Regions from separate parts of the Homo sapiens genome. Here all the other regions are linked to region 3. Evidence: promoter capture Hi-C in 16 types of primary human blood cells and fetal thymus (Javierre and others, 2016). All regions are on one chromosome and are shown on one strand. The core of a region is centred on a gene start or on the middle of the fragment in contact, and the rest is flanking DNA. Distances in the headings are between cores, read along the strand shown.

Region 1 (2,955 bases), core at 16-2,515, 240 kb after region 3:
CACGCCCGGCTAATTTTTTTCTATTTTTAGTACCGACGAGATTTCACCGTGTTAGCCAGGATGGTCTCGATCTCATGACCTCATGATCTGCCTGCCTCGGCCTCCCAAAGTGCTGGGATTACAGGTGTGAGCCACCGTGCCCGGCCTAATGAGTCCTAATTCTTAATCCTTGGCCTTTCTCTTCAAGTTGCAAGTTGGGGCAGGAAACAAAGGTCAATGCAGGGCAGAGAATTTCTCCTCACGTGCCCCTCCCTTTTTATCAGGAGGAAACCCTTCCCAGTAGCCTCTGGCACAGTCCCCTTAAAATTCACTAGCCAGGACTGGGCTACATGCCCATCCCTCCCTGAGAAAGGGATCTCCCCCAAGTCTTCCACAACACTGTAATTCTAGTGGTATGAAGAATGGGAGAATAAGTCATCAGTTTTGTAGGCCATTCTTAACCTGCCCCTTGGCCACCCTGCCATCAGGATGCTTCCCTAGCCACCTTCTCTTCAAAAGCACCAGTAAATATAAAAAAATCCACTCTCTCCTACAGAGATATTAACCATCCTTTGCTTGAGCTACTAATACCTTACAGTCAGAGCCATCTCATCTATTCCAGTTTCTCAAGGAACCTTCCCCAAACCAAAAGCTCTCTTCCCCAAGAGGAATTCTGGTGCCAACTCATTACAAAAACTAATAAAAAACTACATGCATGGTGTGATTCCAACTACTGAAAAATATGTATGGAAAAGGACTAGAAACAAACACACTAAAATGTAAACAGACAATGCTTCTGGTTGATGAGATTATAGATATTCTTTTTTTTCTTCTTTATGCTTTTCTATACTGGCCAACATTTCTACTCTCAATATGTATGCCTTTTCCAGCTGAAAAATACATCTATCAGGTCAGATATTCTGGTTGCCCCTCCAGATCCATCCTTCTCCCTCACATCCCTGCTTTGCGCCCTAGGAAACTACCCCAGGAGGCTGACCTATAAGAACTGCATTATCCTCTGGCTTCCAGCAGGTGATGAGAGGCAAGAGAAGACATGGAAGTATTTATTTCCAACCTCCCACTCACCCAGCTCTCTCTGCAGCCTCTCCATGGCTACAGCTCTCCCAGAACCTAGTAACACTGCTCCTTCAGGCCTATGGGTGCAAGGCCTGTGGGAGCCCAGGGGGCTCTGAGAGGACAGGTGTGCTTATGTAGGCTGCAGGGATGGCGCCTGGTGGCGAAGGCTGCTCCTACCCACTCCTCCCTGCTTCATGAGCTCACTGAGGCCTTGCTGAAGCGTTGAGTGTGTGTCCTGGGAGCTTCAAAGCCCCGTTGTTTTCCTTCACTCTGTCTAAATTGTCCCTTCACCAATTCTAATATACCCTTTGAGTCTGCCATCTTTTCTTGCCAAGATGTGAACTAATGCATCTGTTAATAAAACTCTGAAAGACACACCTGTCCACTCAGAGTGGCAGAGACTTGAAAGTGTGTCAATTCACTTAGATGTGCACACTGATATGCATATGTAGCTCTTGGCACCTAAATAGGAACAGAACCTATCCTACAGCCTGCTGATGGCTTCCAGAGTAACTTCCTCCTTAGCTGAAGTGCCACTAGAGGAGGAATTCCAATTCTCGTTTTACTGGAACATAGGCTCCTTGACATGAGCATATCCTGCAACCCAACAACTCCATTCCTCCAACAGAAATGTGTGCATGTATTAACCAAAAGGCATGTACATAGTTGTATTATTTGCAATAATCCCAAACTATCACATGAAATAACATTTCATAAATGTTATATAACATCTCAAATGAACTATTACATACAACATGGATGTAATAGATGTTGTATGTAATACATCTATATACTTTCATAATGTTGAAAGAAGCTAGACATGCAAAAAATACATAATTCCACCTTTATTAAGTTTAAAAATAGGCGAAACCAACCTATGGTGGTAGAAGTCAGGAAAGAGGTTGTCCTGGAGCAGAAGGATAGTGTGGTAATGTTCTATTTCTTACCTGTATGTTGGTTAAACAGGTGTGTGTTGTTTGTGAAAATTCATTATACTGTATAGTTTCTATTGGTGCACTTTTATGCATATACATTATATTTGAATATAAAAGTTTGCATTTTAAAAAGTGTCATGTGTGGAATCCCTGCAAAACAGAGACATCATAGAGCCAAATAATGTTAGGTTTCCTATGCCTACAGTGGGCTCCACAGGAGGTACAAGACTTTTGTCTCTGCATTCCAGTAACCAGGATTCCAGCCCATGAGATAACTGCACTCCCTGAGTGAGGCCAATCCAGAGAAGCAGTAGCAAGAACTCAGAACCAGTGCTGCCACCTCCTGTTAGGCCAGGACAGTGAGACAGAATGAGCCCTTCTAGAAAACATCTGGCTCTTTCCCAGCCTTCAACCAGCGGCTGTGCAGCCCTGCAGACTCTCTGTTTTGAGTCTCAGGTCCCTCCTCTGGGAATTGAGGAGGATGCCTGAGAAGAGAGCCCCAAAGCCTAGTGCTTTAGTTTCCCCGCTTTAAGAATCACCTAAGGGGCAGGGCACGGTGGCTCACGCCTGTAATCCCAGCACTCCGGGAGGCCGAAGCAGGCAGATCACAAGGTAAGGAGCTCGAGACCAGCCTGACCAACATGGTGAAACCCCATCTCTACTAAAAATACAAAAATTAGCCAGGCGTGGTGGCACATGCCTGTAATCCCTGCTACTCAGGAGGCTGAGGCAGGAGAATCGCTTGAACCCAGAAGGCGGAGGTTGCAGTGAGCCAAGATCATGCCACTGTACTCCAGCCTGGGCGACAGAGCAAGACTCCATCTCAAAAAAAAAAAAAAAGGTTTAGATTATATCTTTGTTCTTAAGGTGGTTACTGGTATATTAGCATTCATTCTTATCTTCATATACTATTATAAGCTTCTTAAATTTACCAATATATTTCCACGAGTGCTTCAACATGCTG
Region 2 (2,786 bases), core at 93-2,592, 220 kb before region 3:
ATAAGAGGTCACAGGCAAGAACACTGGGGGTCCCATGGGGCGCACACAAGACCGGCCAGCAGAGGGTCACAGTCAGTCCCTCTCCTGGCCCAGCTCCCCACCACATCCCAGGGCGATACTCTGGCCTCAACAACCCACTGAGGACCAAGCTGGGAAGCCTCCCACACCCCAGGAAGGACTCTTTTTGGTCCCCTCCATTCTCTCTACACCCAGAAAACTCCCTCGGTGCCCTTCCAAATCTAGCAGGTCCATCTGGCCCATTCCCCCGACACCTGCCAAGCTAAGATGCCTACTGGCCCAATGTTGAAGCCAGGCCCTCTCCAAGGGAAGGCCGATAAACCTCCTTTCCACACTTCCAACTGTTCTGGGTGCCAGGTTTTGGGGTGGGACTGAGAACCAGGAAGCAGGGGTCCTCAATGCACAGCCCCATCAGCATTGCGGGGAGCAGCGTGGCTGGGTCCGAGGCAGTCCACAAGCACCCACCTGGGGGGATCAGTTGTGGTTCACAAGGACTCATTTGGGGCTTGGAGACCTGGCCGGGCACTCCAGTGGGAGGCTCCCCTAGGGGCGCACCAGGCTCTGATGCCAGTACCCCACCTGGGGGCGCTGCCACCTGTCACAGGCTCTCATCTTAGACTGTTGCCGAGGTGTGGATATTTTGAGCTGTCTTGGGGAGACAATTTGCCTCCTTGATGACAAAAGACTTATCCCCCACTGGGGAGACCCAAGCCACTAAAAACCCTCTTGGTGTTGCCGGTGAAATGTCGAAACGTTGTCATGTAGCGTAATAACTCAGACCTTTGCAGCCAGAAGAACACATTCTCAAAGAGATCCTTTAACTTGAAATAGTGATTCTGTCTGCCACTCCCGGCTTCCAGTTCGGGGTAGGAATTCACACACCCCAGGGACAGAACAAAAGTCTACAGGAAGACAGGTGGTGGTAAACACAGAGGAAAGGGATTTTTATATCACCATATAATCACATTTTTGGTTCTCTAGTGTGTTCCCCCACAGAGCTCAAAGCTTTCTGCAAAGCCTTTCATCTCCCTGCAGCAAGTAGGCAGTGAGCTATTGTCGCCCCGATTTTTGCAGGGGGTGAATGCCAGTGATCGGGGATCTCCCGTCGAGGCAGAGACCAGGCCTCCAAGACCGCCCCAGCGAGGCATCCACGTGGCCACCCACCTACCGGAGGGGTGCTGGGTAAGGAAGCCGATCCATTGTTCTGGCTTTCAAAGGAACCACAGATCCGAAAACAGGCAAAGGGGGAAAGGAGGGCCCAGAGACGATGCCACCCCATAAGCCCCCATCCCAGCGCCTGCCAGGGACCGCGAGTGCCTAGCGTGGGTGATCAGTCTTCGTTTCTTCCTCCCCCTCAGCAGCAGGCCCCACTGGGAAAAGTGGAAGGCTGGCTCCGTGCTCTTTGTGGGTGGGGGGGAGATGAAAAAGAAACGAAAACACCACAAGCAAGTGACCTGCCAGGAACACAAGGTCCTCAAGAAAGGGAAGCCCAGACATTGGTCTGGAGAGCATGGGGCTCTGGGAAGAAAGTGCTCTCTCTTCTCCTGGTCTTGGCTATGTTCCAGAGGATTTGAACCACCTCCATCGGCCTGTGCTCAGGGAGAGGGTGGAGAAGGGGTCCCCCACAGCTAAGCCGGCAAGGGGAAGCTTCACTGGGACCCTTGCTAGCAGCCCCCCTGCCCACCCCTCCCAAGGGGTTCCTAAGATGAGGCCTACAGGATCTGGGCAGGGAGCAGAAAGCCCAGGGGAGGCAGCCACACACAGCAGGGCAAGAAGCAGGGTGACCCCGGCGCCACCGCACCAACCCCACAGGGGCAGCGCAGGCGGGCTCACCAGGCCGTCTGGGTCCACGGGCGGCACAGGATCCTCCGGAAGGCACGGCGGAAGTCCTGGTTGAAGATGGTGTAGATAACAGGGTTCAGTGAGCTGTTGCAGTAGCCGATCCAGAAGAAGAACTGGAAGAGGCCATGGGGCACCTTGCAGTGCTTCGGGCAGATGGCTCCCAGGCTGTAGCTGAAGAAGAAGGGGAACCAGCAGAGCACAAAAACGCCAATGACCACAGCCAGCACGAAGGTGAAGCGCTTCTCCCGGGTCAGCTGCGCCCGTCGACGCCACCACTGCCCACCTATAGCACCCACGCCCCTGCCCAGGAGCACCTGGCCACGTAGGGTGGCCAGCACCCGGGAGCCCTGTGGCTGCTGCAGCGGGGGGCTGCAAGCTGAGGCCGGAGACACTGGCACTGCCTGGGGTTCACACTCTTCCTCCTCCTCCTCCTCCTCTTCCTCCTCTTCAGCTTCATCCTCTGGAGATGCCCCACAAACACCCTCCTTCTGGCCCTGGCCTGAGTTGGGAAGGGCAGCCCAACTGGGTGGCAAGGCCCGGGTCCCAGTATCTTCAGGGGTCTCCCCCTCCTCCTTCTCCCCAGTGGACTTCGAGTGTCCGTTGACCTCTCTGGCAGAAGCCACAGAGGCCAGGGCTGGCAGTTTGGCTGAGGCCAAAGCCCCACCATGGTCGGGTCGGGGCTGCTTGGACTCACCCTGCCCAGGCCCCCCCTTGGCCCTGGGACCTCTGCGGTTGCTGCGTTTGGCGATCAGGTAGATGCGCAGGTAGACAAGGATCATGATGAGGCAAGGAGCAAAGAAAGATCCGATGCTGGAGGCCAGGATGTACCAGGCCTCCTGGTTGAGCTTGCACTGGGGGCGCCCGCGCGGCTGGGGGCCCTGGTCGCCCTTGTAGATGAGGGGCGGCAGCGAGATGACGGCGGCGAT
Region 3 (2,955 bases), core at 276-2,775:
AGTTTATACGAACAACAGATAGGCTTAAAAAGTGGTTTTCAGCCAGGCGCAGTGGCTCATGCCTATAATCCTAACACTTTGAGAGGCCAAGGCGGGTGGATCACCTGAGGTCAGGAGTTCGAGACCAGCCTGACCAACATGGTGAAACCCCATCTCTACTAAAAATACAAAAATTAGCTGGGTGTGGTGGTGGGCGCCTGTAATCCCAGCTATTCAGGAGGCTGAGGCAGGAGAATCGCTTGAACTTGGGAGGTGGAGGTTGCAGTGAGCTGAGATCGTGCCATTGCACTCCAGCCTGGGCAACAAAGCAAGACTCTGTCTCAAAAAAAAAAAAAAAAAAAGTGGTTTTCAACAAAGGGTGGCACTTTTTGATTGCCAAAATGAGCGACAGCACTGATGGCATTTAGTGGGCAAATGATGTTACGGGGGCTTAAGAGCCCACAAAGAGGGCAAACATCCTATCATGCCAAGGATTGTTTCACCCTGAATGCCAACAGTGCCCTTGAAGAGAAACACTGTAAAAGATGCCAGATATGAGAGTTACAAGAAATTCTAGGATGTGCTGGGGATATTCCAGGGAATCACCCTGGCCTTTACTCCCATAATTCAATCCTTAGGGTTAGATGAAACTGAGGGGACAGATGGCATTTTATGCTTATTTCGCTTTTTCGACCTTTATTTATTTTTTGAAGGGTGGGGGGTGTTCACAGGAAGCTATTCACAAGAATCTGAATAAAACGATGGCCTTCATCTTACACTATATTAAATGTACATTTTGTACTATATTTAATGTATACATAGCATTTCTGCATCAGTTCTTCCCCACCTGGACCGCTCCTCATTCCCACGTAGGCTCCCGCTCCCCTCCGTCCCTCTTCCCGGAGGTTTTCAGCGTTTTGCTGCCCACACAGCACAGATCTCTAAGGGAAATAAACCTCGTTTTCTCGATCATCTGCCTCCCCATTATAAAGTAAATTCCACGGGCTGAGCGCGGTGGCTCACGCCTGTAATCCCAGCACTTCGGGAGGCCGAGGTGGGCGGATCACCTGAGGTCAGGAGTTCGAGACCAGCCTGGCCAACATGGTGAAACCCCGTCTCTACTAAAAACACAAAAATTGGCCAGGCGTGGTGGCAGGCGCCTGTAATCCCAGCTACTCGGGAGGCTGAGGCAGGAGAATCGCTTTAACCCAGGAGGCGGAGGTTGCAGTGAGCCAAGATCGCGCCACTGCACTCCAGTCTGGGGGACAAGAGCTAGACTTCGTCCCAAAAAAAAAAAAAAAAGAAAGTAAATTCCACGAAAGACGGGCCTTGCTCACCCTGCTCGACGCTGGGTTCCCAAGCCCAGTCCTGCACCTAGTCCTCGAAGGAGGGGGTTTTCATACTATTTCAGGGGGTCCACCGACCCCAAGAAGCCCAATCAGACGGGGTCCTCAACCCAAAACTCACTCTGACGCCGCCCGCGGAGGCCCGAGGTGGTCTGCGCAGGCGCGCTGCTGGCCCGGCCCGCCGGCGACGTCACGCGGCCGTTACGGCGCTCAGGCGTCTCGACGCGCGCGATTTAAAACCAGCTCAGGAGACGCCAAGGAAAGATGGGACCTCCCGGCCCAGGTGAGCCGGGCGGTCGGGAGGCGCGGCGGGAAGGGCCCCTAGCGAAGCAGTACTTCGGGCGGGCAGGGCTGGCGGGCTGGCCTGGGCGGGGAGAGAGGATATGCTCAGCTCGGGTCTTGGCCCTGCGGCTGACAGCAGAGGCCGGTGCGGGGGGAGGGGAGGGCCGGCGCGGGGCGGGCGGACCTTGTGCGCTCAGCCAATCAGAAAGCGGCTTCGGCCGGAGTCGGAGAGCGCGCGGGCCCTGCCTCACACTCCTCAGTTCCCGGGCGGGCGGTGGGGCGGCCTCCTCCTTGGGCTCCTAAAGCGTGCTCGGTGTCTCTCCATTAAAATGGTGGTTTTCCTGGAATAGACGTTATTTTCAGGGCTTTGGAAGCGATGTGGTTACCGTTGTATGCTTAGCATGCATGCATTTATTTTTGCATCTATTCAAAAGTACTGAGCTCTCCCGTTGGGCGAACAAAATTGATAATATCTCTATACTGTTGGAGTTGGGGAGACAGACAGTAAACAAAAGAAATAATTACACATGAGGCTGAGTGCTGTGATTGAGTATAGCAGAGTAGGGGTGGCTCCGCCAGGGGTTCAGGGAAGATCTTTAGGCAGATACTAGGGAACGTGTTTCAGGCAGAAGGAGCAAGTACAAAAATGAGGCAGGGAAGAGCCTGGCCTGGCCTAGGACCTGACCAGAACATTGTGACCAAGCTTAGTGAGGCCTGACACGTAGGCAGGGTCTGGAGGCCTTGGGTAAGAGATTTGGAAATTGAGTTACATTTTGGACATGGTATGTGTGACTTACGGGAGAGACTCAGGTGAAGGGATCTATAATCACTTAGGTGAGAATTTGGCTCTCAGGGGAGTTATATGGACCACTCAGGGAAGTGACCCATGGATTGAGAAATAAATTTGGATACCATTATCATATAGACCATTAGACCATAAAACCATGGGAACAGGTGAGAACACTAGGAAGGCCCTGCACATCTAGGACCAACGTTTAGAAGCTGGATAGAGAAGGATGAGCTGGAAAAACTCAAAAGACAGTGGTATAGGAAGAAGCCAAGAGTGTTTCAACAAGGAAGGGACTGTCAGCTGTTTCAAATGCTGCTGGATTCCAAGAGAAAGGCCAGAAAATGACCATAGGGTTTAGGCAACATGGAAGTTATAGATGATCACGAAAAGATAGTTCTCATGAAGTTGGAATAGGAACCAGACCAGAGTGGGTTGAAAAATGAGTGGGAAATGAGGAAGTAGACATAGGAAGTGTCTTTGAGCTCAGTAACCATCGGTTGAATGAATGGATGCATAATATCAAAGGCAAGGAGAGAAACCACGGAAAGAAGATTTGGA

The links. The method cuts DNA at HindIII sites, captures the fragments that hold promoters and counts their contacts. A CHiCAGO score of 5 or more calls a contact.
Region 1: a contact is called between a fragment that was not itself captured here and the fragment with the promoter of NCAPH in region 3, in 1 of 17 cell types (naive CD8 T cells). The highest score is 5.4, in naive CD8 T cells.
Region 2: a fragment that was not itself captured here is called in contact with the fragment with the promoter of NCAPH in region 3 in 6 of 17 cell types (M1 macrophages, M0 macrophages, total B cells and 3 more); the score reaches 7.9 in M1 macrophages.

The regions. Positions count from the first base shown.
Region 1 is chr2:96,578,608-96,581,562 of GRCh38, forward strand. It overlaps a transcript of KANSL3 not described here. Among named protein-coding and RNA genes, the nearest start is that of ARID5A, 43 kb to the left of the region's middle. The HindIII fragment of the contact is 3,284 bases long and covers 1-2,907 here.
Region 2 is chr2:96,112,950-96,115,735 of GRCh38, forward strand. It overlaps ADRA2B (adrenoceptor alpha 2B), which reads right to left. Exons shown (of 1, transcript NM_000682.7): 1 at 1-2,786. The coding sequence ends at 1,848. Among named protein-coding and RNA genes, the nearest start is that of ADRA2B, 2.2 kb to the right of the region's middle. The HindIII fragment of the contact is 642 bases long and covers 1,022-1,663 here.
Region 3 is chr2:96,334,241-96,337,195 of GRCh38, forward strand. It overlaps NCAPH (non-SMC condensin I complex subunit H), which reads left to right and starts at 1,526. Exons shown (of 18, transcript NM_015341.5): 1 at 1,526-1,608. The coding sequence starts at 1,590. RefSeq lists enhancers at 999-1,840, 1,841-2,682 and a silencer at 1,601-1,920. The HindIII fragment of the contact is 5,174 bases long and covers 1-2,308 here.